Regions from separate parts of the Homo sapiens genome. Here all the other regions are linked to region 3. The links are contacts of gene promoters, found by promoter capture Hi-C in human tissues and cell types (Jung and others, 2019). All regions are on one chromosome and are shown on one strand. The core of a region is centred on a gene start or on the middle of the fragment in contact, and the rest is flanking DNA. Distances in the headings are between cores, read along the strand shown.

Region 1 (2,700 bases), core at 45-2,544, 130 kb before region 3:
ATCATCGTTCTGCTTGTGACTCTGAGCAGCTCACTTAATCTCTCCGGACCTTGGTGTCTTCCCTGGTAAAGCACGTGTATGTACGCGGAGAAGGGGAAAACGATTGTGGAGGGGATTGACGGAAATGCTCCCTTAGGTCTCTTCTTACCCAGACATGCTTTGACTGGAACTCCTGAATCCCTCCCAGAGCATCTTAAAGGAAGCAGAATAATTTAATCATTAACATGTGGACCCCAGACTCAGTGTGTATCCATTTAGATGCTTTTGGTTACAACCAAAAGAAATCTAACTTCAGTTGGTTTAACCAAGAAAGGGAACTTACTGACTCATGTAACTAGAAAGTCTAGGAGTGGGTCAGGTTTCAGGTATGGTCTAATCTGTGGATTCTTAATGTCTTCACAAATGGGCCTCTATTTCTCTGTGATTCTTCTGGTTTTCCCATCCACCATGGGTATCTTCATCCTCAAGGTGGCAAAAGTGGCTGCTGTGGTTCAAGGCCACTTGACAGGTGACATCTGCACATCACACTAGTCCAACACAGGAAATAACTTTTCTCCCCTCAACCGTCATACCAAAGTCCCGGGTTTTACGCCTATTGGACCAACCTAATGCCATACGCGCACTTTTCATCCAAATACTGACCGGAGAATAAGAAGGACTGATTGGCTCCGGTTAATTAAGGCTCAACTCCGGAGGTTAAGGAGGGGTCAGCCCCACCCAAATCACAAGGCAAGGGACACTGGGAAGTTTGACATTCTCATGTTACAACCACATTGTCCATGATCGAATTCTGGCTCTGCTCGCCATATGTTATTGGGTAAATTGCCTTTGTCAAGCATCTGTTTCCTCATCTGTAAAATGAGATAATAATACGTATCTCAGAGGACTGTTGAAAGAATTAAATAAAATAATATGTGAAAAGCACTAAACATAGTTCCTGGCACAGAGTAAGTATGATGATGATGGTGGTGTTGGAGATGATGAAACTGAAGAGGGTTAGGGGAGCACTGGCACCAGTTTAGGAAGCAGCTGAGCCGTAGGAATGTTATCTAGTCAGGAGTGTGCATGCCTGTCATGCTGAAAGCATCTGTTTGATCTACTGCCCACATCATACTTTTCCCTACCTCTGCTTTTTTTCCTCTTAGGATTTTTTCTATAAGTGCTTTCTTCCTCCTCCCCTGCCTCTCAACTTCCTCATCTTTAAAGGCCCAGCATAAGTGCTACCCCATATTCAGTAGTTTAAAAGCTGGGTGTGGTGGCTCTTACCTGTAATCCCAGCTACTTGGGAGGCCTAGGCAGGTGTATTGTTTGAGCCCAGGAGTTTGAGACCAGCCTGGACAACATAGCAAGACCCTGTCTCTCAAAAAAATCAAACGGTTTTAAGAAAAAGCTTAGTTCAGTAACTTTGCATCTGTATAACTGAATCTCCCCCTGAGCAGGATCAGTAATGGTTAAGAACTTAGCTTCCGGATTAGGCAGAGATGGGTTTGCCACTGGGTAACTTGGGAAGGTTATTCAACCTCTTTATGCCTTAGTTTCCTCATCTGTAAAACAGGGTCTTTTGTTTGTTTGTTTGTTTTTTGAGACAGGGTCTCACTCTGTCACCCAGGCTGGAGTGCAGTGGTGCAATCTCGGCTCACTGCAACCTCTGCCTCCCAGGTTCAAGCGATTCTCTTGCCTCAGCTTCCTGAGTAGCTGGGACTATAGGTGCCTGCCACTGCACCCGGCTAATTTTTGTATTTTTAGTAGAGACGGGGTTTCGCCATGTTGGCCAGGCTGGTCTTGAACTCCTGACCTCAGGTGATCTGCCCGCCTCGACCTCCCAAAGTGCTTGGATTACAGGCGTGAGCCACCGTGCCTGGCCAAAACAAGGTCTTAATAGTACCTACCTCAGGCCAGGCGCGGTGGCTCACGCCTGTAATCCCAGCACTTTGGGAGGCCAAAGTGGGTAGATCACGAGGTCAGGAGATCAAGACCATCCTGGCCAACATGGCGAAACCCCGTCTCTACTAAAAATTAAACAAAAAATTAGCTGGGCATGGTGGCACGTGCCTGTAATCCCAGCTACTCAGGAGGCTGAGGCAGGAGAATCGCTTGAACCAGGGAGTCGGAGGTTGCAGCGAGCAAGATCATGCCACTGCACTCCAGCCTAGCAACAGAGCGAGACTCCGTCTCAAAAAAAAAAGTACCTACCTCAGAGAGTGGTTGAGACAATGAAATGATGCAATGTGTATAGTGTCTATAAAGAGGTCAGTACAGTGCTAACCGTAAATAATGGATCTTAGTGGTTACTATTAGCCTCAGGAGAGCAAGGTCTGTGTGACAGTCTCTGCAGCAGTAGCTGCTGGATAAACATACGTTAATGGGCTGTAAGGAGTATGGATGGCTCTCTTTCGTCTTCCAGCCATCTCCTCACCCTAGCAAAATAAAAAACAACCCCCAACCTTGGCAAAGGCAATGTAGCAAAGTAGTAGGTGCAAGATTTAATGAGCGACGGCAGGGAGGATGAGGTGCTAAGGAGGGGTGGACAGGGTAACAGATAACACATTTCAGCAACAGGAAGCCGAGAGGAAACCAGCAAGCGGCTGCTGTTCTGTGTTCCCCCATCCAGCCAGCAAGTTCAGCTCCGGCAAGTCATTTGATTCACCCGGTGATGAAATGGGGGTCAACCAGTCTGTGGGCTTTCCACCTGTCACAGGA
Region 2 (2,700 bases), core at 132-2,631, 210 kb before region 3:
TCCTGAGGGTGCTCCAAGCAGAGGCTTGAGGGGAAATGCAGAGCAAGGCAGGGCAGACCTCACACTCCTAGGGAGGAAATGAGGGAGAACAGGTACACACATGTGAAAAAGATCTGCTCCATGATGTACCAGGGAAGCACTTCCACAAGCCTGAACTATGTGGACATGAAAGGGGAGATGGACAGTTGTTTCCTCTCCAGCATCACCACCCCTTGGGCCTGTGTCATCACCGGAGCACTCCTCTGAGAACTTGGCCACTGGGGATGTGGAAGGACCATTCAGGATCATCTCCTGTAGATGCTCCATTTGGCAGATGAAGAAACTGAGGGTGGGTATGGTTTGCAGGGCATCACATTTCAGGTCTCCAACAGAGATGGAGATGGAACCCAGGTGTCTGGGCCCTAGGCCAGGGTTTTCTCCTCTGAACCAAGAGGCATCAAAAAAATCTCAGATCTCTGAAAAGTTCCCTTTCTAGAGACAATTAAAAAAAAAACAAAAACATAGGCTGGTAACGATGGCTCATGCCTGTAATCCCAGCACTTTGGGAGGCTGGGGCAGGCAGATCACCTGAGGTCAGGATTTAGAGACTGGCCAACATGGTGAAAACCCATCTCTACTAAAAATACAACAAATTAGCCAGGCGTGGTGGTGGGCACCTGTAATCTCATCTACTCGGGAGGCTGAGGCATGAGAATCGCTTGAACCCAGGAGGTGGAGGGTGCAGTGAGCTGAGATAGCGCCACTGCACTCCAGCCTGAGTGACAGACAGCAAGACTCTGTCTAAAAAAAGAAAAAGAAAAAGCATAGACTTTGAGGGTTAAACAGGCCTGTTGCAGCTTTGCCTACATGAGCTGTGGGTCTTGGGGCAACTCCATACCCTAAACTGTGCCTCATCTGTGAAATGAGGACAATAAGTATGACATGTATACTTGAAAATTGCTAAGAGAGTAGATTTTAAGTGTTCCCACCATGAAACAATAAGTATGTGAGGTCATGCATATGTTAAATAGCTTGATTTAGCCATTCCACAATATATACATATATCAAAACATCATGTGGTACACCATAAATATATGCAATTTTTACTTGTCGATTAAAAAAATTTAAGGATAACCTATTTATAGTTGTTGTGAGGACTGAATAAAATAGTGCCTCAAAACTCTTTGTAGATGCCCAGCCACTTGCAAGCACTGAAATCAATAAAACACAGCATTATAATTGCTATTACCCTCTACCTCCCCTTTTTCCTTGCCAGGCCTAGACCATTCTCCCTGATGCCTTGCCTGTCTTCTACCCAGCTGGGACCCTCTTGGGCACTACAGCTTCCTACACTCATGACACAGACTTTGGGAGCAATTCTAAATGACAGGTCTGTTGCTTAGCTGGGTGACTTTCTACAAGTCACTTAAGCTTCAGTGCCTGATATATAAAAATGAGAATCATAATACCCAGAATAATTCTCTGATAAATCAATGGCACAGAAGAATGAGAGGGATGACAGTTGTTACAGTTTAAAAGAGATCCATGAGACAAAAACAACAGAGGTCTCAGCCTGAGTAACGGAGTGAGACCCTGTCTCAGAAAAAAAAAAACTTTAATTATTGTTTGTTAACATAATGGCATGGTGATTATGTAACAAAAATCCTTATCTATGAGAAATGCATATTGGAGTATTTATGGGTGAAATGACTTAATGTCTAACATTTTCTTTAAAATATTTTAGAAAAGGCTGGGCACGGAGGCTGAGGCAGAGAATTGCTTGAACCCAGGAGGTGGAGGTTGCAGTGAGCCAAGATTGCACCACTTCAGCCAGCCTGGACAACAGAGTGAGACTCCTTCTGAGAAAAGAAAAGAAAAGAAAAAATAAGAAAAGAAAAGAGGCTGGGTGCAGTGGTTCACGCCTGTAATCCCAGCACTTTGGGAAACCAAAGTGGGAGGATCACCTGAGGTCAAGAGTTTGAGACCAGCCTGGCCAACATAGTGAAACCTTGTCTCTACTAAAAGTAAAAACAAAATTAGCTGGGCGTGATGGCGAGTGCCTGTAATCCCAGTTACTCGGGAGGCTGAGGCAGAAGAATCGCTTGAACCTGGGAGGTGGAGGTTGCAGTGAGCCAAGATCACGCCACTGCACTCCAGGCTGGACAATAGAGTGAGACTTTGTTTCAAAAAAAAAAATTTAGACAAAAGAAGCGTGGGCCAGGCACGGTAGCTCACGTCTGTAATCCCAGTAGCTTGGGAGGCTGAGGTGGGCTGATCACTTGAGGTCAGGAGTTCGAGACCAGCCTGGCCAACATGGTGAAACCCCGTCTCTACTAAAAATACAAAAATTAGCCGGGTATTGTGGCATGCGCCTGTAATCCCAGCTACTCGGGAGGCTGAGGCAGGAGAATTGCTTGAACCCGGGAGGCAGAGGTTGCAGTGAGCCAAGATCGCACCAATGCACCCCAGCTTGCGCAACAAGAGCGAAACTCCGTCTCAAAAAAAAAAGAAAGAAAAGATAAAAGAAGTGTATGGGAATATTGGGGCAATGATTAACGAGTTAAGCTGGGTTTGATTACGTGAGCCCATTATACTGTTCTCTCTAGTTTTGTGTGTTTGAAACTTTCATTCATAAGGAATAAAAATAAATGAAGTGACTTGCAGAGAGGGAGGCAGTAAATATAGTGGTTAAGAGCTCTGGGTCCAGACACCCACTGGTGT
Region 3 (2,700 bases), core at 174-2,673:
TAAATATTTTGATATAGGCCAGGCATGGTGACTCACGCTTGTAATCCCAGCACTTTGGGAGGCTGAGGCAGGCATATCACCTGAGGGCAGGAAGTTGAGACCAGTCTGGCCAACATGGCGAAAACCCATCTCTACTAAAAATACAAAAATTAGCCAGGCGTGGTGGCACACACCTGTAGTCCCAGCTACTTGGGAGGCTGAGGTGGCAGGATCGCTTGAGCCCAAGAGGTTGAGGCTGCAGTGAGCTGAGACTGTGCCACTGTACCCGAGCCTGGGTGACAAAGCGAGATGGCTCTGTCCACCATGAAGACAGGCTCTGGCTGCAGAGATGGTTGAGGTTCCTGGCTGACCTGCTGCAGACTGGGCAAGAGGTGGCTGAGCTTCTATCCTCCCTCCACCAAAAAAAAAAAATTACAAAATTTTTGGCCGGGCGCGGTGGCTCATGCCTGTAATCCCAGCACTTTGGGAGGCTGAGGCAGGCGTATCACGAGGTCAGGAGTTCGAGACCAGCCTGGCCAATGGTGAAACCCCGTCTCTACTAAAAATACAAAAATTAGCTGGGTGTGGTGGCGTGCGCCTGTACTTCCAGCTACTAGGGAGGCTGAGACAGAAGAACCGCTTGAACCCAGGAGGCGGGGCTGCAGTGAGCCGAGATAGCGCCACTGCACTCCAGCCTGGGCGACAGTGAGACTCCGTCTCAAAAAAAAATTTTTTTTACATATACAATATGTAAACATTACGTATAATGTACATATATTCCATCTATGGAGATTGTGGTTAGGGACGGAAGGATGGGTGGGGGTGCCAACATTTTTGCATTTCCAAGGGGTTTTCTGAATTCACAAAGTACTTTCACAACCTCATTTGATCCTCTTTAAAATCCAAGGCACAGTAAACGGTGAAAGCAGGACTGAAATCTAGTTCCTGACCCCAAATTTTAACCTCTTCAAAATCCTCTCCCATGTGGCTTCGTAGTTACGCTTACATTAAAAAAAAAAAATTACCAAAGTTGTTCGCACACTCGAGTGTCTGGTAACCACTTAGGTCGAGGACCCCTGGTCTGGAGTCGACGGGCCTGATCTCGGCTCAGCCACTTCCTTCTGGGGGTGATCGCGAAGATTCAGCGATGACACGAACAAATTCCTAAGCCCGGGAAATACTGTAAGAAATTTTCAATACAGCAAAAAGAAAATGTACATTTCTGAGGCTGTCGAGAACCGTTCACACAGCAGCTTCCGAATCCGCTCTTGAAAGAGCGGATCAGAAAGAACACGCACTCCTCCGCGCAGGGAAATATGCCGCACGCACTCAAGGGACCGGCCGCGAAAGTTAGTGCGTGGGCGGGGCACAGCGAAGGGGGCCAGGGCCTTGCCGGGGCGGGGCTGGCGCCCGGGGCGGTCGCGACGTAGCCCCGCCCCCAGCGTTGGCGCGAGATCCGAACGTCGGCGGCCGCGGTTCTGGCGTTCCCTGAGGCGCCGGGAGCCTGCGCCGGCGTCCTGCCGGCTTCGTCTCCTCAGCGGCCATGAGGCGGACAGGCCCCGAGGAGGAGGCCTGCGGCGTGTGGCTGGACGCGGCGGCGCTGAAGAGGCGGAAAGTGCAGGTGGGACGCTGGGGGATGAGAGGGCGTTGGGAACCAGGTAGGGCCTGGAGGCGTAAGACGGGAGGAGTTTGGGGGACACCTGGAGATGATGAAAGCGAAGTCGGGGACAGAGAAGGGAACAGCGTTGGGGATTCACAGGCGAGAGGGATTGTGGTCTGAAGAAGGTTGAAAAACGGGGCTTGGGGAGGATGGGAGGGACGGAAGGAAAGAGCGTGCTGTTGGGGGGTCTGGAGGAGCGGTGCGCAGGGAGGGGCGGCGAAGGTTCAGGTGTGGGAGAGGCGGAGGGAAAGTTCGCTCGGAGCAGTTGAACTGACCAGGCTCCCTAGGAGGCCACAGTCCCTGCGAGACGTCCTAGTAGAGGCTGGAGCATTGGGAGATGGATGCGAATGCAAATTGGGGAAATTCTCACCCCGGGGTCTGTTTCCACCCAATTTGCCAAGTTGCAGGCCAACTACCTGCCCAGAACCGGTAACTTTGAGGGGAAAAGTAGAAGCTATGGGAAGGGGAGCTGGCCTCCTATGTACTGAGCAGTCACTGGGTGCCGGATACTGCATTAGATACTGAATATGCGTTATATGTGTCGTCATTCTTGCTGGGAATGAGGAAACTGAGGTTCAGTAACTAACCTAGGCCCGCCTAACTAGAAGGAGCTGGAAATCACATTCAGGTCTGTCACCTAGGCAAGATGCTCTTCAGTCACTGTAAAGAAACAAAAGTGCGACATAATAATCATTCATGTTTATTGAGCATTTTATGCTGGTGCTAAGTGTTTTAGGTATGTTACCTTGTTTGGTACAATTCTATATGGTAGATAGTGTAATGATACCCATTTTACATACGGAAAACAGGCTCAAAACAGACACTAGGGGCAAGATTCTTGCTCTCAGGTTGCTCACAGTCTTATAGGGAAGAAAAGAGGTGTATAAATAATAACAACAATACCTAACCTTTATTGAGTGCTTTCTATGTGTCAGGCATTTTGCCGAGACTTTATACACTTTATCAATGGCAGGTACTCACCAAAATTCAGTAAAGTAGATTTTGTCATTATCCTGGTTTTATAGATAAGAAATTTGATCATTTTATTATTATTATTTATT

The links. The method cuts DNA at HindIII sites, captures the fragments that hold promoters and counts their contacts. A contact is called where the count stands out against the background at its distance.
Region 1: a fragment that was not itself captured here is called in contact with the fragment with the promoter of AUNIP in region 3 in 10 of the 25 tissues and cell types used here (H1 embryonic stem cells, IMR-90 fibroblasts, adrenal gland and 7 more).
Region 2: a fragment that was not itself captured here is called in contact with the fragment with the promoter of AUNIP in region 3 in 1 of the 25 tissues and cell types used here (small bowel).

What each region holds. Positions count from the first base shown.
Region 1 is chr1:25,990,775-25,993,474 of GRCh38, reverse strand. It overlaps PAFAH2 (platelet activating factor acetylhydrolase 2), which reads left to right. Exons shown (of 11, transcript NM_000437.4): 2 at 2,612-2,700. The coding sequence starts at 2,659. Among named protein-coding and RNA genes, the nearest start is that of PAFAH2, 5.9 kb to the left of the region's middle. The HindIII fragment of the contact is 7,134 bases long and covers 1-2,700 here.
Region 2 is chr1:26,073,111-26,075,810 of GRCh38, reverse strand. No RefSeq gene overlaps it. Among named protein-coding and RNA genes, the nearest start is that of TRIM63, 6.8 kb to the right of the region's middle. The HindIII fragment of the contact is 3,802 bases long and covers 1-2,700 here.
Region 3 is chr1:25,858,180-25,860,879 of GRCh38, reverse strand. It overlaps AUNIP (aurora kinase A and ninein interacting protein), which reads left to right and starts at 1,423. Exons shown (of 3, transcript NM_024037.3): 1 at 1,423-1,600. The coding sequence starts at 1,523. RefSeq lists silencers at 606-665, 1,266-1,525 and enhancers at 517-1,142, 1,016-1,245, 1,143-1,768. The HindIII fragment of the contact is 14,334 bases long and covers 1-2,700 here.